Linked DNA regions of Homo sapiens: all the other regions are linked to region 6. Evidence: promoter capture Hi-C in 16 types of primary human blood cells and fetal thymus (Javierre and others, 2016). All regions are on one chromosome and are shown on one strand. Each heading gives the region's core, a stretch centred on a gene start or on the middle of the fragment in contact. The rest is flanking DNA. Distances are from core to core; before and after follow the strand shown. Region 1 overlaps NKTR (natural killer cell triggering receptor). Region 2 overlaps SS18L2 (SS18 like 2). Region 3 holds the start of OXSR1 (oxidative stress responsive kinase 1). Region 4 overlaps VIPR1 (vasoactive intestinal peptide receptor 1). Region 5 overlaps CCDC13 (coiled-coil domain containing 13). Region 6 holds the start of EIF1B (eukaryotic translation initiation factor 1B).

Evidence for each region. Contacts are between HindIII fragments. The CHiCAGO score rates a contact against its expected background, and 5 or more counts as called.
Region 1: a contact is called between a fragment that was not itself captured here and the fragment with the promoter of EIF1B in region 6, in 1 of 17 cell types (total B cells). The highest score is 6.9, in total B cells.
Region 2: a fragment that was not itself captured here is called in contact with the fragment with the promoter of EIF1B in region 6 in 3 of 17 cell types (neutrophils, naive B cells and total B cells); the score reaches 9.3 in neutrophils.
Region 3: a contact is called between the fragment with the promoter of OXSR1 here and the fragment with the promoter of EIF1B in region 6, in 2 of 17 cell types (total B cells and naive B cells). The highest score is 7.6, in total B cells.
Region 4: a fragment that was not itself captured here is called in contact with the fragment with the promoter of EIF1B in region 6 in 1 of 17 cell types (monocytes); the score reaches 5.8 in monocytes.
Region 5: a contact is called between a fragment that was not itself captured here and the fragment with the promoter of EIF1B in region 6, in 1 of 17 cell types (monocytes). The highest score is 9.0, in monocytes.

Annotation. Positions count from the first base shown.
Region 1 is chr3:42,609,556-42,612,745 of GRCh38, forward strand. All of the region lies in intron 2 of NKTR (natural killer cell triggering receptor), which reads left to right. ZBTB47-AS1 (ZBTB47 and NKTR antisense RNA 1) reads right to left here. Exons shown (of 3, transcript NR_125400.1): 3 at 2,755-2,812. Among named protein-coding and RNA genes, the nearest start is that of NKTR, 10 kb to the left of the region's middle. The HindIII fragment of the contact is 502 bases long and covers 1,224-1,725 here.
Region 2 is chr3:42,591,840-42,595,063 of GRCh38, forward strand. It overlaps SS18L2 (SS18 like 2), which reads left to right. Exons shown (of 3, transcript NM_001370300.1): 3 at 2,583-3,224. The coding sequence ends at 2,670. It also overlaps a transcript of SEC22C not described here. Among named protein-coding and RNA genes, the nearest start is that of SS18L2, 2.6 kb to the left of the region's middle. The HindIII fragment of the contact is 2,974 bases long and covers 163-3,136 here.
Region 3 is chr3:38,163,599-38,166,796 of GRCh38, forward strand. It overlaps OXSR1 (oxidative stress responsive kinase 1), which reads left to right and starts at 1,939. Exons shown (of 18, transcript NM_005109.3): 1 at 1,939-2,348. The coding sequence starts at 2,279. It overlaps LOC101928234 (a long non-coding RNA gene), which reads right to left and starts at 1,878. Exons shown (of 5, transcript XR_940733.2): 1 at 1,799-1,878. RefSeq lists enhancers at 614-1,813, 974-1,053, 1,204-1,333, 1,604-1,703, 2,097-2,712 and silencers at 1,944-2,333, 2,384-2,433. The HindIII fragment of the contact is 1,868 bases long and covers 126-1,993 here.
Region 4 is chr3:42,508,854-42,512,144 of GRCh38, forward strand. The region is part of intron 1 of VIPR1 (vasoactive intestinal peptide receptor 1); the gene reads left to right. Among named protein-coding and RNA genes, the nearest start is that of VIPR1, 7.9 kb to the left of the region's middle. The HindIII fragment of the contact is 1,692 bases long and covers 721-2,412 here.
Region 5 is chr3:42,762,356-42,765,767 of GRCh38, forward strand. The region is part of intron 1 of CCDC13 (coiled-coil domain containing 13); the gene reads right to left. Among named protein-coding and RNA genes, the nearest start is that of CCDC13-AS2, 6.6 kb to the right of the region's middle. The HindIII fragment of the contact is 2,363 bases long and covers 305-2,667 here.
Region 6 is chr3:40,308,333-40,311,517 of GRCh38, forward strand. It overlaps EIF1B (eukaryotic translation initiation factor 1B), which reads left to right and starts at 1,375. Exons shown (of 4, transcript NM_005875.3): 1 at 1,375-1,640; 2 at 2,561-2,724; 3 at 3,138-3,185. The coding sequence starts at 1,610. It overlaps EIF1B-AS1 (EIF1B antisense RNA 1), which reads right to left and starts at 1,366. Exons shown (of 3, transcript NR_033965.1): 1 at 991-1,366. LOC124906228 (a long non-coding RNA gene) reads right to left here and starts at 479. Exons shown (of 2, transcript XR_007095876.1): 1 at 1-479. RefSeq lists an enhancer at 1,106-1,465 and a silencer at 1,736-1,785. The HindIII fragment of the contact is 2,965 bases long and covers 1-2,711 here.

The DNA.
Region 1 (3,190 bases), core at 225-2,724, 2.3 Mb after region 6:
GACAACCTTCAGGATCATTTTGTCAAGTTCCCTCAGAAATCTCACTGGTATTTTTGAAGGTTGCAATTAAGTTATTATAGGTTACTCTAGGGAATATTGGGCACATTTGCAATTTTGAGTCTTGTCTAAGAACAAGGTATCTCTCCCTTTATTCATGTTGGCATTATGCCTCTCAAAGTTGGAGTTTTGTTTTTATAGATCCTATACTCTTATGGTTATGTAGGTAGAATGTTTCTTGTTGTTTTTGAGAATGTGATTTTTACTGTATTTTGTTCTACTAGTTCTTGTTTGTCATAATATAAATATCAACAACTTCAGTATCTGTTGGTATTTCAGTTGGTTCTTTTGGGCTTTCTAGGTGTATAGCTAATGTTTCAAATGGTGATAAATATGCTCTTTTTTACTTGTAAATCTCTCCTATTGTCCTCTTATCTACTTACATTGACTAGAATTTCCTTTTTTTTTGAGACAGAGTTTCGCTCTTGTTGCCCAGGCTGGAGTGCAAAATGGTGCAATCTCGGCTCACTGCAACCTCTGCCTCCTGCGTTCAAGCGATTCTCCTGCCTCAGCCTCCCGAGTAGCTGGGATTACAGGAGTGAGCCACCACACCCGCTAATTTTGTATTTTTAGTAGAGACGGGGTTTCTCCATGTTGGTCAGGCTGGTCTCGAACTCCCGACCTCAGGTGATCCGCGCCCCCCACCGCCTCCCAAAGTGCTGGGATTATAGGCGTGAGCTACCACGCCTAGCCTACATTGACTAGAATTTCTGAAAGAGCATTAAACAGTAGTGATGCTAACAACTACTTTTGACTTGTTTCCTGCTTCACTGGAATTAATGCTACAGGAGTGTTTCACCATTAACGATAATGCTGATTGTTGATTTGAAAAATATCTGAGAATATGTGTGTCATATAAAGGAATGAATGTTGAATTTCTTTTTTTTAATTTATATTTTTCTTTTTTAAAATTTATTTTGTTGTTTCTGTAGTAGATATGAATGTTGAATTTCACCGTGCACTTTTGGTTTCTATCGTGGGATTTTTTTTTTCTATCATGGGATTTTTATAGGATTTTTCCTTCACTTCAATAAACTATATTAGTAGATTTCCTAATGTTGAATAGTGTCTCTTTTAAAATGAGATTGGCATATGGGGTTTTAAATTTGTTTTATATCATCTCTCCCAGGCTTTGGTTTCGATTTTATTTTGTTTCAAAAAAATTAAGCTTTTCATCTTTTGCTGTGCTCTAGAACAGTTGATATAGTGTTACACTTTAATGTTACTTGAAGATTAGAAGTAATTCATCTATATCTAAAGAATTAATAGCAGCACTCTTTTGGATAGTTAGCAGCATTTTAGTTTCTTTATTGGGCCTGTTTTTTATCTGTATACTATCTTATAATTCTTTTTTCTAAATTTTGGTATTCTTCCTTTTATCTTCCTAAGTGATTAATTTATCTTTAGTTTTATTCATTAATGAAAATATTTATGACTATATGCAGTGATCAGGATAAATAAGTGGTATTTAACACTTTTTGCATTGTCAGACCTGGCAGCTCTAACATCTGACCTCATTTCCTGACATCCTGGCCCTTTGATTCTCTGATCTGCACTAATATCCTCATCATAACTACATGAGCCAGTAAATATGTTCTCTTTTGAGTTTTTGCTTGTACTATCTGCAGGAAACCTTTAGCTGGGTGTTTATGGACATGTCATGGAAAAAGCTTCATGTGGCTAAATAATTAAGTTGTTTCGGCCTTATATTTTATGTTTTTCTGGCTATTTCCTTTGTTTTATATCTTTTACTAGGTTGCTGCCCCTCCCACCAAAGAAGCTTGAAAGATGTAAAATATTGTTAGTTCTACTTGTGAATACCTGTTTAAGTATGCTTAAACCCTTGGCTGGGCATGGTGGCCTGTAATCCCAGCACTCTGGGAGGTCGAGGCGGGCAAATCACAAGGTTAGGAGTTCAAGACAAGCCTGGCCAACATGGTGAAACCCCATCTCTACTAAAAATACAAAAAATTAGCTGGGCATAGTGGTAGGTGTCTATAATCCTAGCTACTCGGGAGGCTGAGGCAGGAGAATTGCTTGAACCCAGGAGGCGGAGATTGCAGTGAGCCAAGATCGTGCCACTGCACTCCAGCCTGGGTGACAGAGTGAGACTCTGTCTCAAAAAAAAAAAAAAAAATGTATGCCTAAACCCTTATTTCCTCTCTGCTTCAGAAAAGTCTACCTATTGATTCCCACTATGAAGTATGAGGATGCGTATTTTCTTTCACCAGTCCAAATCCTTGTTGGTTTTTATTGATTCTCCACTGCCTTCCTCCAACTGAAATTATTTTTACCCTGGGCAACATAGTGAGACCTTGTCTCAACAAAAAATACAAAAATTAGCCAAGCATGGTGGCATGCTCCTATGTTCCCATCTATTCAGGAGGCTGAGGCAGGAGGATTGCTTGAGCCCAAGAGGTTGAGGATGCAGTGAGCAGAGGTTGTGCCGTTGCACTACAACCTGGGGAACAGAGCGAGACTCTGTCTCTTAAAAAATAAAATACATTATTTTTATATCACAGGCATGAGAAAAGTTCATGATATGTTAGTAGAGCAAGGTGCAGTACAGTGTGCATAATCTACCATTTTTTAAAGGAAGAAAAATAAGAATTTATCAATATTTGCTTGTGTATGAAAAGAAACTGGAAAAATACACAGAAAATTAATGAAAGTGAGTACCTGTTGATAGGGTTGGGAAACAAGGCTTCTCATCCTGTACCTTTTTCCACTGATTTTTGAGTCATGAGAACATTTCCTATTCAAAAGAAAGAACATTTTCAGATGGTACATAAAAAAAATTTTGCCATTACATAACTTTGTTTCCTAATACTGATAACATTTAAAACCATAATTAACACTGTTTGCATTGTCATACCTGGCAGCTCTAACATCCGGCCTCATTTCCTTTTATTTTAAAACCATAATTATAGTGATTTAGGTTTAATTTTGTAATGTAATATATTCAGTGCCCAATGCCACTCTTCCTACTAGTTCTCATTCATTAATTTTTTGACTTATATCTCAGGGATATGTATTCAAATAGATATTTCAGGATAAAATGTATTTCCTTTGCTAGGTATAGAATTCTTGTTTCACAGCCTATTCCTTAAAAATGGTAGACTGTGCTCAGTTG
Region 2 (3,224 bases), core at 400-2,899, 2.3 Mb after region 6:
CCTCCTTCACTCAAAGCTATGCCGGCTGATGACAACAGGGATGGGGGTGAGAGCACACAGAAAACTAAGCTCAGGAGATTAGAGCCATGGCCCCTTTCTCATCTTGGATCCCTGCCTCATCCTTTCTCTGTTAAGTGAAGGGGTCAGGCCATTTGACTGCTAAGCTTCCTCTCATTTCTAACTTCCCGTCAGTCTGTTAGTGACACACACACAAAGACAAACAAAGGATTTACAAGTTAAGTCAAAGGTAAATTGTGCATAATAATTTAATGCACTCCCTAAGTAGATACCAAAATGAGAGAAAATAGAGTCTGAGTCTCTTTTCCGAATCTAGTCCAGGTATTACGCCCATTTTTTTCTTTTCTTTTTTTTTTTCTTTTTGAGACAGTCTCCCTCTGTCACCCAGGCTGGAGTGCAGTGGTGCAATCTCGGCTCACTGCAACCTCCACCTCTGAGGTTCAAGCAATTCTCGTGCCTCAGCCTCTGAGTAGCTGGGACTACAGGCGTGTGCCACCACGCCCTGCTAATTTTTATATTTGTAGTAGAGACAGGGTTTCACCATGTTGGCCAGACTGGTCTCAAACTCCTGACCTCAGATGATCCACCCACCTCGACCTCCCAAAGTGTTGGAATTACAGGCATGAGCCACCACGGCCGACCTTATGCCCATTTCTTATAGAAAAATATATTATTTCATTGTTACTGAAGAAATGTTTCACAATCCCTACCCCCTAGAAAAATTACCTACAGTCCCTCACTGAATACCTTAATAGAATAGTAGAGATATCAGTTTTTGGGTAAATCTTTACATCTGACTCTGGCATTTGGTAATTTGATTTTTAAAAGTTTATGGTAAATACCTTCTCCTTTTTCTATATGAAAAATGGTTGCAAAACATTCCATTTGGTACAGTAATTCTCAACCCAAGGGTAAGAAAGTTATCAAAATCTCCTAGTGGGGTTTTTCAATTGCACAGGCCATGCTTTCTGAGCCCTTGTCTGATTTATTTTTTTGGGTGAAGAACTCTACCCCCCCCACCGTAAACTTATGTTGATCATGAAAATGTTTTGTCCCTTCTTGAAGTTGTTGAACAGATATTTTATAAGTACAGTTGGTCCTCTGTATCCATGGGTTCTGCATTGCATTTCAAAAATATTGGGGAGCACAAAACAATGAAAAATAGCAACACAACAATAAAAAAAATACAGTATAACAACTATTTATATGGCATTTAAGTTGTATTAGTTATTATAAGTAATCTAGAGATTATTTAAACTGTGAGCCAGGTGTGGTGGCTCATCCCTGTAATCCCAGTACTGTGGCATTACAGTGGGAGGCTGAGGCGGGCAGATCATCTGAGGTCAGGAGTTCAATACCAGCCTGGCCAACATGGCAAAACCCCATCTCTACTAAAAACTAAAAATACAAAAATTAGCCAGGCGTGGTGTGTGCCTGTAATCCCAGCTACTTGGGAGGCCGAGGCAGGAGAATTGCTTGAACCCAGGAGGTGGAGGTTGCAGTGAGCCAAGATCACGCCACTGCACTCTAGCCTGGGTGACAGAGCAAGACTCCGTCTCAATAAATAAATAAATTAAAGTATATGATATGGAAGGCTGTGTGTAGGTTATATACAAATACTATGCCATTTTTTATAAGGGACTTGAGCTCGAGCATCCTCAGATTTTGATATCTAAGGGGAGGAGGGAGGTGTCCTGGAACCAATCCTCTGTGGATACCAAGGGACAATTGTACTCCTGGTACCAGGCACTGTTTCAGACTCTGGGAAATCCATAGTAAAACAGATACCAGCTCTGCACTCACAGAGCTGACATTCTAGACTCTAGAATCTATAAGGAAATGTATAATTAGGCACATAATAATAAGTGCTTTGAATAAGAATAAAGCAGAGTAAGTGGGGGGAGGAGTGCTATTTTATACATGGTATGTCTGATAAGGTGATATTTGAGTAGAGACCTGGGGTAAGGGAGCCAGCTATGCAGTAGTAAGGCATAGTGAGATAAGTAAGACAGAGAAAGCATCAGGTGGAAAAGCCCCCTAGTAGGAGTGTGCCGGATATCTTCAAGTCACAGAAGGAGGCCACTGTGGCCAGTATTCAGTGAACAAAGGTATAGCCATAAGAGGTGAGATCAGAGGGGGACTGGAGGCCCCCATCATGTAGGGCCTTATTAGGACACAAGAACAGCTCACCTTTACCTGAATGAGATGGGAGCCTTTGGAAGGTTTTGAATAGACATATAACATGATTTTGATTTAAATTGTACAGTAATCTCTCAGGCTGTTATGTGGAGAATAAAGTAGGTGCGCAAAGATAGATCTGGGAGACTAGGTGTCTACTGCAATAGTTCAAGCAAGAAATGATAGTAGCTATGAAAGTAATCAGTAAGAATGGGTGAGAATCTGACTATATTTTCCTTAAATATGTTAAACAAGAAGGTTGATAACACTGAATCATCCAGTCAGTGGATGAGCCATTCCACTAGAGTGGGTAAATTATTTTCCAGTTTTTTGTTCATGGTCGGTAAAAACAAGCCTCTGATTTTTGCCTGTTTTTTTGCCCATAGGTACCAGCATGTGTTACATAGAAATCTCATTTATTTGGCTACCATTGCAGATGCCAGTCCAACCAGCACTTCAAAAGCAATGGAATAATCTTTCAAAAGCAATAGAATAATCTTCCATTTGGCTGTCGTGAGGAGTAATTGAATGTAATCCATCTCTTACAAAATGGAGACAGGGTCTTTACCAACTCAACTGGTTAAAACATGAATGAAACCTCTGTGGCTCTTTCGAAACGTGAAAATGTGAAGAAAGCTACTAACTTAGCTGTATTCTCATGTAAATATTTTTTAAATAATTAAGCAAATCCCTCAATAAGTTGAGCCCAGGTGTCCTCTTTCCTGAACTTGGAGCATGTTTGGATAACAAAGACATCACTGGGATGTTCAAGTCTACTTTTTAGTTTCAACCTGAAGAGGAAACTCAGTAGGTGTTGGGCAGGAATTGGTGAGATTCCTGACTTGATACCTTGCTAAATGGACATGTAACTGTGTGCTCCTTCCTATCAGTTTGTAAATGTGGTCCCCCTGACTGCTGTTTTCAGATTGCTTTGAAATAAAGCTTATTTTTCTATAAAATACTGATGTGGAGGTATAGAAGTTTTCATGTAATAAGTATTCCATTTGGTTTTCAAGAATAACTGTGAG
Region 3 (3,198 bases), core at 689-3,188, 2.1 Mb before region 6:
CATAAATCAATACACAGAGGTTATACATTGGTTTGACCTAAAAAGGGGGGACATCTCCAAGCAGGAGCCCACAGGTCATAGGTGGATTCAAAGATTTTCTGATTTGCGATTGATAAAAGAGGTGAAGCTTTGTCTAAAAATTTCGGATCAGTAGAAAAGAATGTTAGCTACAGCTTGTGGGCATGACCTTCTTCAGGAAGAAGAAACTTAGAGAAAAAACAAACCACCAGTCAGAGTTCAGTCCTTAGCTCCCCATTCTCTGAGGTCTATGTGCCAGCAGATCCATTTGGTGGGGGTCTGGGTTTCTAAAAAACAACTCAGGGACATGTGTTGATGTTATCTTTAGTTTTTATAGGGAACCAAACATCCAGTTATTTTAGTTTCTTTGGCTAATGTTTAAAGTTATTACTGCCCTCTTGCTTATCAAGGGGTTCATTAACTTTTCAAGGCTAGCTAAGTGCCGGGAATTTCTCTTGAAGTAACTCAAGATTTTCCTTTATTTCCATGGTTGAGGGCCTGCAGGCCCTAAAAGGGGTCCCTGCTCCGTCTCAGCTGGGCCTAGGTGAAGGTCTCTTCCTTTTTCTGAGACGGTGTCTCCGTCTGTTGCCCAGACTGGAGTGCAGTGGCATGCTCTCGGGTCACTGCAACCTTCGCCTCCTGCTTCAGCCTCCCTAGTAGCTGGGATTACAGGCGCCAGCCACCACGCCCAGCGATTTTTCTGTATTTTAGTAGAGAGGGAGTTTCACCATGTTGGTCAGGATGGTCTCGAACTCCTGACCTCAGGTGGTCCGCCCGCCTCCGCCTCCCAAAGTGTTGGGATTACAGGCGTGAGCCACCGCACCCGGCCTAAGGTCTCTTCCTTAAAGACTGCCGTTGGACTGAAAGGTGTCCAACCTAGAACAGTTTCGCACCTAGCCCTATCCCTGTTGGATGCTCATTATTTTTTAAAATCCAATTTACCAAGCGTGTTCAGTCTTCAGCTCGCTAATTTCTCTAACGGCCGTACGTAGTCAAACTGAGAAAACTGTTCAGTGGGGGCGACAAAAGCCAACGCCCGTGAGACAACCCCCAAATCCGTGGGTCGATCTCACTTGTTTAATACCCCAAGCCCTGTCCGGGGGGAAGAAAGACAACCTCCCGAGTCCCTCAAGGCAGGTGCTTATTTGAGCTTCAGATCTAAAGCTGCGAATGGACAGAACCCGCCCAGTGCAGGGTGGACCCGCGAGAGACAGCGCCGCGACAAGCGTTAGAGAGAACGTCCGCCTTGAAAAAAATGTCACCAGGCAAACTTCCAGTTTCACTCCGACCAGTGGCCCAAGGCCTTTTATCCTAGTTGGCAGTGGTCCACACCCAAAGGCTACCCCACCCAGCCGCTCCCTCAGGGTTTCTCCACACCCTGTAGAGCCTTTCGCACGTCTCGAGGGTGTGACGGTTACGCCGTGACGTCACTCCAGAGGAAGTGGTAAGACGAGCGCGGTAACGGAGCTCTTGAAGGGCTGCAGCCCTAACACGGAGAAGCGCGCTAAGAGCCTGGAGGCGGGACCAATTTATGACTGACGTCTACCCACACCCATTGCTTTTCTGATTCCTTCTCAAACAAACCAATGAATGCGACGACGGAGACAGCAGCGTGCCCCAGGCGCTAGAAGTGGCTCTGCCCCTTCTACTTTGCTGCCCTTTGGTCGCCATGCTTAGTGTGGCTACTGCCTCTGTGCTACTTGAGGCTCTCCTACGGCTTTTCGATGCCTTCGATGAACCTCTACCTAAGCACTTCTTCCCTTTCACCGCGAACTCCTACCTTCTCGGGTTTCTAGCTTGCTCACTTTACATCCAGCCACACTGGAGATGGCGGCCGGAGGCGGGCCCGAGGTGGGGCGTGACCAGCGCAGTGACGTCAGCGCGCTGCGTGTCGGCAGGTGGAGGAAGAGGGGAAAGTTTGGCCCGTGCGTGGGGCTGGGGTGGAGGGCGGGACAGAGGGGCTGGGCCCAGGCAAAGCTTCTGTCGCTGCTGCTGCGGAGGCCGAGGACAGGACGTGGGCTGGGCCGGGCAGTGCCGGACTCGGAGGAGCAGGAGGCGAGGTCCGCCGGAGCTCTGAGCCCCCGCTGCTCTGCCGCGCGGTGACCCCGCGCCCCGGCGCCGTCCGACCCGTGGCTGTTCCGAGACGATTGGTGGGGGCGCGGCGGCGGCGGCGGCGGCTGTTGGGGGTGGGGAGACGCGCGGCGAGGAGACGAGCGAGGTCAGCGAGTTTGAGGGAGGACCGCGAGCCGCTGCCGCCGTCATGTCCGAGGACTCGAGCGCCCTGCCCTGGTCCATCAACAGGGACGATTACGAGCTGCAGGAGGTGATCGGTGAGAGCAGGCGCTGCGGAGGGGGGAGGCGCGGCGCTGGGAGGCGGGGGACACGGGAACGTGGGGAGCCGCGGGAGCTCGGGGAGCGCAGCCCTCATAGGAATTCGTGGGGCGCTTGTGGGGCTGGGGGCTTGTAGGACGCTTGTGTCGAGGAGCGCGTGTGAGACGGGAAGGGGGTTTTGAGGCGCGCGCCTGTGAGGTGGCGTGGGGTGGGGTGAGGCTTGAGGGGGCTCAGGAGAGATTTGTGTACAGGATTCTCAAATGTGTGGACAGGAGCGGCCCATGTGTCTTGTAGAGAAAGAAAGTGCAGGTGTGGGACAGGCCTTTCCGAGGCTGTGTGAGAAATGGGATCTTGAAGTGGGCACAGCCATCGATTTCTGGGATTGTGGGATAGATAGGGAGCTTTAAGTTTTTCCTCCATCCGTGCTGGGGCGAACTGGGGATCCTCCAGGTGAAGCTGCAGGAACCGCGCTGAGCAACCGAGACCCAACTTACGACTCCTTCCAACTGACTTTCCAGTCGGGGAGGTAGACATTAAATAAGAAGACAAAAAGAAGTAAGAAGGGCTGGGCGTGGTGGCTCACGCCTGTAATCCCACCACTTTGGGAGGCCGAGGCGGGCGGATCACGAGGTCGGGGGTTCGAGACCAGCCTGGCCAATATGGTGAAACCCCGTCTCTACTAAAAATACAAAAATTAGTTGGGTGTGGTGGTGCGCGCCTGTAATCCCAGCTACTCGGGAGGCTGAGGCAGAAGAATCCTTGAACCCGGGAGGCGGAGCTTGCAGTGAGCTGAGATCGCGCCACTGCACTCCAGCCTGGGCGACAAACCCTGACTCTGACTCAAAAAAA
Region 4 (3,291 bases), core at 317-2,816, 2.2 Mb after region 6:
TGTGCCTGTGATCACACTGCTTTCTCTCTGGCTCCTCCATTCCCCCTGTGTCTCTTTTTTACCCCATGATTTCAGCAGGGGGCTGGCAGAGTAGAGTAAATAAGTCGTGAGATATGAGATGGTTTCTGTAAAGGGCTAGGGTCATGTGGGAGAGGGTAAATGAAACCACTCCTGAGCCCCCTGTCCTCTACTCCCCATTCCCCTGCCTCCATTAACAGTTGCAGGCTGGAAAAAAATAAAATAGCCCTCTTGACAAACCTCAGAAGCACAAATCATCCATGGAGGCTCTGCATGCTTGGCAATTTGCAGACAGTTCTTTCTCCTGCCTCACCTTATCCAGCCTGCTGCATTCTGTGCTCCTCTCAGAGACCAGCTTCTCCTCGGAGGGACTCATGCTTCCTGCTGTGCTACTTGGCTCCTCCTGCCCTAGTTCTCTGGCCCCAGATGATGAGGCTGGGGCTTCTGATTCGAGGCAGTAGCTGTGGTCTCAGGCTTCCCTTGAGGGGATTGAACATGGCCTACGAACCTGAGCATGGCCCACCCTGTCTTTCAGAGCCCCTTGCATCTAACAGCTACAACTCCCAGCATCTTCACCCATACCCCCATCACCACACCTAGCCTTTGCTCCAGATCTCAGAGAACCCCACATGGACAGGAAAAAGCAGGGCTTTCTCTCTAGCCCCTCACCAATTCCTATGCTTGACTGAGCTCCAAAAAGTAAGCTTAAAGGCAGCCTGACCCTGCCGTTGAGCTGAGGCTAGAGAGTTTTGGTCCAGGCTGGGCTCTCAGCACCTTCTTTGGGGCAGGAGTTCCTAAGCCCAGAAGGGACCCAGGCTGAAGAAGACTGAAGAAGTCCACAGCATCTTCTCCATCCTGGTCTTCTTCTGTCCTCTGCCATGGGGCTAGCGGGATGTGGGAGGTGAATGACAGGGAGTTGGCAGGAGAATCCTGAGTCTAGTTGGAGACAGGGACTAACCAAGTCTTGTTCATTCCACCTGCCCCCTCCTCTCTGTGCCCTCTCTTTATACCCACTGTCCTGCCCAGGCTTCATCAGTTCCTGCCTGGACTGGTGCAGTAGCTTTCAGCCCCACCACCTGCAACCTGAGGGATCTTTGTAAAATGTGTATCCCCCATCCTCAGTCTCCTGCTTCAAGTCTCTGTTGGCCCCCATGGCCTAGGAGTGAAAGCTCACACTTGAAAACTGGCATTCCAGGCCCTTCCCAATCCTACCCCAGTCTACATCTCTCAACTTGTCTCCTGATGCCCCCAGAACTCCTTGCTGCAGCTACACCAGGCTTCTCACAGCCTTGCATGTATTAGGCATTTTCATGCCTCCATGCCTGTGCACACGCTGCTCTACTTTCTGGGGTGCTCTTACTCCACTTCTAATTGTCTAACTTGCACATCCTCCATGACCTACCTCTACAGAATGAGTACAGCATACCCATTCTGTAGGAAGCCCAGACTCCAGCTATATCCCACCCTGGAACACTTCCCTGACATCAGTAGACTTGGCTATATTCAGCCAGGGAATTTTTCAACTCTCTCTGTGTTCCTGAAGTCCAGAGGGATAATGAGGATGTTTAGAATAGGGAAATAAATAAGTGGGAGAGGAAGTCCAAAGTCTGCCTGAATTCCTTAGTGATAAGGACTAGAGGGAGCTGCCCTGGCCCGGTCCCTCAAAGGGCAATGGTTGACCAGAGGGTCCAAGGCGAGGCTGTGTTGAAGGATTGATGCAGTCCAGACCAGCGGTCAGAGACTTAGGTCCCATCTGGGAATGCGCATTTGCTGGGTGACCTCAGGTCCCTCTTTGGGTCTCCATTTCCTCTACCCCTCCCCAGATAGGGCTCAACACTAAACTAAATTGTGACAAAGAGAGAGCTCATCTTCCAGACCACACCCACTGTTTCATAAACACCACAGGCTTCGGTACCCACCCCTCCTTTCTCTCCAAACTGCCTCTAAGGAAGGGCTGTGTGTCTGTGCTGCTGAGGGGGCAGAGTTGGCTGGAGAAGTTGACCCAACACTCTTCTACCCTCAGAGAGTCGCAAGCAGAAGCTGCCAGAAATCCTAGGCGCCCATGGTGATTGGGAAACAAATATTTCTTGGCAAACTATATGGCCACAGTCCTGGCTTAAGAAGGCCCAGAAAGTGAGGGCGTCCATTATCTTGTCCTCAGAGGGCAAGGCTGGACACTTTTGTTTACAGCGACCAACAGAAAACTCAACTGATCCAAGCCATAAAGGAAAGGCATCAGCTCATGTTGCTAGCAGTAGAGCTGGTTTCAGGCATGGCTGCATTCACAGACCCAGACAATATTAAGAGAACCTGATTTTTCTCCATCTCTCTATTCTGCCTTCAGCTGTATAGTTTTTATCCGTGTGTTCCACTTGTCAACAAGAAGACAGCAGAAGCTTGAGCCCTTGCTTCCTTTAAGGTTTCCAGTCCAGTGGGGAAAAACCAAATTCACTTTCTTAATCACTTAATCCAAAGTCCCAGGAGTGAGCCTCCTGGCTCTGAGTAGCCTGACTCAGGCCATGTGTCAGGCACTGTGGCCAGGAATGCTCTGATGGACTTAAGCCTTGGTCACATGTCAATCCCCTGGAAGAGGGTTCATCAGAACTCCATGAACTAGAGGTAGGGAAGGAGGTTGTTTCCCAGACACAGATGAGGACATGGCACCAGAAGAGAGTAAAGGATGGTGGAAGGCAGAAACAAGAGATATCTGCTACCATCCATCCTGTTTTGACGTTACAGTGTTATGAGAGATAAGAATGGACAGGAGAATCAGGAGACGCTGGGAAGGGGCCAGAAAGCAGAAAGAACCCTGTTGCTGGTGGGAGATGGGGTTGGGATGGTACCTTGGTGAGAAATGTGCTCCAAGACAGGCAAGACAGACCAATGATGGGACACAAGGCAGGGTAGCCAGTACCCAGATTCCTCTTCCAGAAGCCACCTCTGAGATCTTCCTGGCCACTATTCCCCCTATACTTGAGGATGAAACAGCCACAAATCCCTTGAGACAGAGTGTCTTGAGCATTTCAGCCTGAGTAACCCTTATGGGAAGGAGAGAAAGCACATGACCCCAAAGAGGAACCACAGACAGTTTCCTTGAAGTCTCCTATCTTTTAACAGTTATACGAGTAACTGTATCATGCTCCATCACACAACTGTGTTACTTTCAATAAGTTTTAAATGACTTACCAGCTAATGTCTTTACCCCCATTGGCTGGTAAAGGTGCAAGATGGAGCTCGTGCTCACTGTGGCTTCCAGGGCAACAGCACTTAGGC
Region 5 (3,412 bases), core at 236-2,735, 2.5 Mb after region 6:
TCTCTGAGCCCTTGGACCATCCTTCCTGATGAGAGTGTTTTTCTTCACCTGGGGACCTTGGGCCATTCCAGTCCATGTTAATTAACAATGTGATTCATTGCCAGGTGCAGGGTAGGCTGGAGGGGGCTGGAGATCGAGTGACTAAGGTCAACTGTACCTACGTAACCATCTCCTAATAAAAACCCTGGACACCAAGACTCAGGGGAGCTTCCCTGGCTGGCAGTACTCCATGTAAGTTGCCACGAATTGTTTCTGGGAGAAGTAAGTACTGTCAACATGACTCCACTGGGAGAAGACAACTGGAAGCTTGCACCTGGTGTCTCCTGGACTCTGCCCTATGTGTCTCTTTGCTGATTTTGACCCGTATTCTTTCATTGTAATAAACAATACATGTGAGTATAATAGCTGGCCCAAAGGCTATATCCTTTGTTAAAAGATAAACGTTAGGCCAGGCATGATGGCTCACACCTGTAATCCCAGCACTTTGGAAGGCCAAGGTGGAAGCACAGCTTGAGCCCAGGAGGTTGAGACTACAATGAGCTGTGATCGCGCCACTGCACTCTAACCTGGGTGACAGTCAGACCCTGTCTCCAAAATAAAAAAAGAAAAACTTTAAACAAATCAAATTTAACAGAATTCAACTGAGCAAAGAATGATTCACAAATCTAGCAGCCCCCAGAACCAGAACAGATTCAGAGTGACTCCAGGGCTGCCACCTAGTCGAAAAAGATTTATGAACAGAAAAAGGAAAGTGATGAACAGAAAGCACAAGTGAGGTACAGAAACAGCTAGACTGATTACAGCTGGCTGTTTGCCTTTTTTGAATACAATTTGAATAGCTGGCTGCCTGTGATTGGCTGAAACTCTGTGACTGGTACAAGAGTAGATTGCAGTCTGTTTAAATTCCTAGTCAGGTTACAGTTTACTACGTACAGAGAAACCTTTAGGCTGAACTTAGAATATATAAGAAGGCAGCTTTAGGCTACAGTTAGTTTAACACATCCCACAGACATTTTTGTTTGGCTCTTACAGAACACTATGTTAGGATTTGAATTTGTTGCCAACATTCAAAGAATTGTAGTTTCAATATCAGATTTCCAGTGTCAACAAAAACAGTCAAACTCTGTAAAATATTTGAAGAGATGTACTTTTTTTTTTTTTTTTTTTTAGATGAAGTCTCGCTCTGTCACCCAGGCTGGAGCGCAGTGGCACAATCTTGGCTCACTGCAACCTCTGCCTCCTGGGCTCAAGCAATTCTCCTGCCTCAGCCTTCTGAGTTGCTGGGACTACAGGCATGCACCACCACACCCAGATAATTTTTGTATGTTTTTGTAGAGACATGGTTTCACCATGTTGGCCAGGCTGGTCTTGAACTCCTGATCTCAAGTGATCCACCCACCTCAGCCTCCCAAAGTGCTGGGATCACAGGTGTGAGCCACTGCACCCAGTCTGAAGAGATTTATTCTGAGCCAAATGTGAGTGATCATGGCCTGTGACACAGCCCTCAGGAGATCCTGAGACCACGTGCCCAAGGTGGTCAGGGCACAGCTTGGTTTTATACATTTCAGGCAGACCTGAGACATCAATCAAATACATTTAAGATATATACCGATTTGGTCCAGAAAAGCAGGACAACTCCAAGGTTGGGAGGGGGGAGCTTCCAGGTGATAAGTAGATTTAAAATTTTTCTGATTGGTAATTGGTTAAAAGAGTTACTATAAATAGAAAGGAATATCTGGGTTAGAATAAAAGAGATAAAAGTTTTGATCATGCAAATGAAGCCTCCAGGTAGCAGGCTTCAGAGAGAATAGATTGTAAATGTTTCTTATCAGACTTAAGGTCTGTGTTGATGTTAAATGTTGGTCAACTTTTCCTGAATTCCAAAAGGGAGGAGGGTATAATGAGGCGTGTCCAACCCTTGCTTCCCATCAAGGCCTGAACTGGTCTTTCAGGTTAACTTTGGAGTGCCCTGGCTGAGAAGGAAGTCCATTCAGATGGATGGGGGGCCTCTGAATTTTATGTTTAGTTTACACCAGCTTCTTTTATAAAAGTTTACAGATCTGGCAATGCTGGGCCCATCGTCCCACACGGACAGCAGCTGCTATGCAGAGAGTTCCTTTGGTGCATAATAGGTTCTTTCCATTAAACCACTGTCCCTGCCACCTCCAGATGCTGCAGCTGGCACATCAGCTGCCCATTATCACTGCACATAAATGTTGTTCTTTCTCTTAAACCTGCTGGATTCACTTTTATTTCCCATCAGCCACAGCAGATGTTTTGGGTTTGTGGCTCCTGCTGTGGATTAAGCCCAGTGGCATCTCAGAGGCTGGCTTCAGCCACTCCTCTACCTGGGAGGCCTTCCTCCCAGGCCTCCCCATCCCAGCCCTTTACCTTCCCACTAACTCCCAGTTAGCCTCTAGGATTCCCCTCAGGGCACTCTGTGGACTCCCAGAATCCCTAGGGCACCCCTTGATCACTAAACTTAACCTCAGTGTATTATAATTATCTATTATTTTATTTACATTACTTCCCTTTACAAAGAGACCTCTTAAGGGCAGGGGTCCTAATACCTTATTCATTTGCTAAATCTCAACATCTTGCCCAGAACAGGCCTTCAACTGTCATTTGTAGAATTGTCACTGAATGAATGAACACAGTAACTTGTAAAGCTTTTCTCCTTTTCTACTCCCAATTTGCACTTGAAGTCACTGAGGAACTGGTACTCATTGAATGTACACTGTGCCCCAGGCAAATTACTTAACCTCTTTGCTTTCGTTTCCCATTTGTAAAATGGGACTCTGATACTTACGAACTTCACAGGGAGTTTGTGAGATTAAGTGGAAGAATGCATGGAAATAATTATCATTATCACTGTATGAAAAGTGGTGCTCTTGGCCCAACGGAGCCTCTGGGATAGACAGTAATGCCTGCACTGAGAGGACACCTGTGGTCCAGACCGGCCCCCAGAGTATTAGTATCTAATCTGTGCTATTCATGAGGCCAGTGGAGATTTGAAATTAATTATCTGGGCTGTGGCCAGGGTGTCTATTTTTATTTTTATTTTTTTGAGATGGAGTTTCACTCTCGTTGCCCAGGCTGGAGTGCAATGGCACGATCTCGGCTCACAGCAACCTCCATCTCCTGGGTTCAAGCGATTCTCCTGCCTCAGCCTCCCGAGTAGCTGGGACTACAGGCATGCACCACTACGCCCAGCTAACATTTTTGTATTTTTAAAGCTTCCCAGGTGAGCCTAACGTTCAGCTGGTTTGAGAATGAGAGGTGTTAAGCACTCTGAGAGGCTGTCTGGGGAGAGAGAAGCTGCAGGAGAGACAGGCATCTCAGTCAATTTGAAGCTGAATGCAGAAGAAATTCACCTGGGTGGGGAAGGGACGGTGCCTGAGTGGGGGGCAAC
Region 6 (3,185 bases), core at 125-2,624:
GTCACTTCGCACCAACAGAAGTTACACATACTTTCATATTAAATTTCTGATGTTACGGACATCACAAAATATCTCTTACATTTATCAGCTTTTTGAAATTATAGTATTAGACCTAATCTTGCTAGATCTTATTAGTGTATTAATAAAGAAATACACGTTATTAATGTATTTTTTAAATTTCAATATAATTGGTTTCCTTTGTAATCCTATGTACTTTGTGAACTTAAAACTTAACTTCTCATTATTCTGAGAAGGGATTCAGCAGCTTCACAGGATTGCCATGGCACACACAAAAAAGTTAAGAATCCCTAAATTTTAGTCTATCTCTTTGCTTCCAGAAAGCCAACCAAGTTTGACAATTGAACACACCTGCCTGAGTGAGCCAATTCCCAAAGTCTCGGGTTTATTTTTCTGTGCGTGACCTGATAGGAAGATATTACGGTCTGGTACATGACTCCATCAATTAACCTATTTGCTGAGCTCACCTTCAGCTTATACCTGGCATCTTTCCTGAATTCTCTGTTGGGCCTTCTGAGGCACACAAAATGAGCTGACAAGCTGATTTTCTGGTATCTTCTGTTCATACACACCTGGCCCCCACTCGATGCCAGGCCCAGGATTAAGCTGGGCAGTGATTCTCAAGCCTGATCCCAGACCAGCAGGCAGGATCAGCATCACCAAGGAGCTTATGAGAATTGCAGATTTTCAGGTCACACCCTAGACTTCCTGAAACAGAAACTCTGGGGTCTATCAGTGTTTTCTCAAGCCCTCCAGAGACACACGCTTTAGTCTGAGATCCACCGTGCTAGGGAATCGGAGGTCCGTCCAATCCTGGAAAGAGAGGCTCCCATCTCCAGTATTGGTTGAGACTAACACCGCTCCTGCAACTGGGGTTGGAATTTCAATGCAGGTAGTTGCTGAGCGGGGGCCAATGAGTTGAAAGCCGGAGCAAGGGGACTTGTTTTGTTCCTGCACCCCGATTTTACTTACATTACCCGGGGCCTCGAGGGTGACTCATAGAGATTAGCCCTGAGCGTCGACCCCTCGGCGCCGCCACTGCACAGCGAGAGAAGGGGAGTCAAGAGAGACGCTTGAGTCCCTTGACTGTCCTCCCCTACGAGCTCTCTGGGAAGAGAGCCCCAGACCTGCGAACTCTGGGCCGCTCTGCGGCCGCTTGAACACTTCGCGGGTCTTCCGCCCCGCGCTAGAGGACGCACTCCGTGACGGGAATTGCGGTCTCGGCCGCCCCCGGCCTCAGGCTTTCCGGGCTCTGCTGCCTCCAGAAAACTACAAGTCCCAGGATGCTCGGCGCGGGACGGTCACGTGGGAGGGGCCGCGGGCGCGGCTAAATAGTCTCCATCGGCCATTTTGTGCGAGAAGCCGCAGCGCCGCCTCTTCTCTCGCGCCCTCGCCTCTTCCTCCGCCTCCTCCTTCGCCTCTTCCTGCCTCCTCCCGGCTTCCGCCGCCGCCACTCCAGCCTAATCCCAACCCCAGGGCGAAGCGTTTTCTTATTTATTTCCGTTTTCTCGCCACTACAGCCTCCTGACAAGGTGATCCGGGCGGGCCCCGCAGGAATTTTATCCCCTCACCGGCCTCACACTAGTATCGCATGTCCACTATCCAGAACCTCCAATCTTTCGGTAAGATCCCGTCGCCGCCGCCTCCCTCCCTTGCCCGGCGCGCATCTCGGCCTTTTGCCCGCCTGGCCACCGCCCCTAGGGGCCCCCTTTCTGCCCTTCCCGCACCCCTAGTGGGGCTTTGTCTCGGCGCCCAGAAAATGGCGACGGGGCCCCTGGCGACCCCTTCCCCGAGGACAGCGCCGGACTCCGAGCCCTCCTCTCGGAGCCCCGGCCGCGGGCCCTGCGCCACCCCCTGCCCCGTCCTTGACCCGGCTCTCGCCTCCGCTTCTGCCCCTTGAAACCTTGGCGATCCTATTTCGTGGACTCCTAGATCGGCCCTGCTACTTGCAAAGGGTATGCCGGGCCAGGGAAACCAGGGATCGGCGCCCGTTCTCTGGCAGCTCCTGGGGGCACTTAGGGAAAGATGCGGATGCAAGCCTCTGATCTGTCACTGGCCAGTGGTTCAGTCTTCTCTGCTTGCGTAGCAATTTGTTAAATTACGCCTCTTGATATATATGTAATCTACTTTTTTTTTGGCAAGGCACAGTTACGGTTAAATGATTAAGGTGGGCGTATTCGAATGTTTATGTTTTCATCAGAATGTAATCGAGATGACGCACATTTTTATAGCGGCTACAATATTAAGGTTTTCTAAATCTTTTTCTCATTAGAGGACCATATTGAACGATAACATTATTTATCTATAACAGCGTTTTTCTACAATGGACATAGCTGTTCAAATGTTTCTCTTTTTGTGAGAGTATCTTGGGGGTTTTATTAATACTCCACCCCCATCTCCATTCCTACCGGCAAAAACAGCAAAGGCACTAGAACCTTCATTGATGACTGTCTGGATTGGTAGTATAATGTATTTCTGGAAAGTACTTCTTAAAAAATATTTTTCTACTTTGGATTTTTTTTTTTTTTTTATCCATTCGCAGACCCCTTTGCTGATGCAACTAAGGGTGACGACTTACTCCCGGCAGGGACTGAGGATTACATTCATATAAGAATCCAGCAACGGAACGGCAGAAAGACACTGACTACTGTTCAGGGCATTGCAGATGATTATGACAAAAAGAAACTTGTGAAAGCTTTCAAAAAGGTAAAGGGATTAGGAAGAAAGGATTAGAGTTACTGATGCACACCTCTGAACTGGATTATGATTCACACCTTTATATCGGCGTGGATGAAAATAACTAGACCAAGAAAGTTGTTCTCATTTTTGTAATTAACATGTAAATATTTAGTTATTCTCCCAGTGTGGTCTCTCATTTTAAAAGAAGATTCGCGTTGCTTTTAAATAAATTTAAATGTGAAATATTTAGTTCTTGATGTTACACATAAAATCATTTCCTGGTTTACAAATTAATTTGGAAGGATTGTGGATTATAGGAGACAAAATCTGTTTCTCTAAATATGATCTAGCTTACTGAAATGGCTAATTCTGTTCATACGGTGAAATAAAACCTCATAGTAGTTGACTAAATTTTGTTGTATATTTATGCACTTTTCCAGAAATTTGCCTGTAATGGTACTGTGATTGAACATCCTGAATACGGAGAG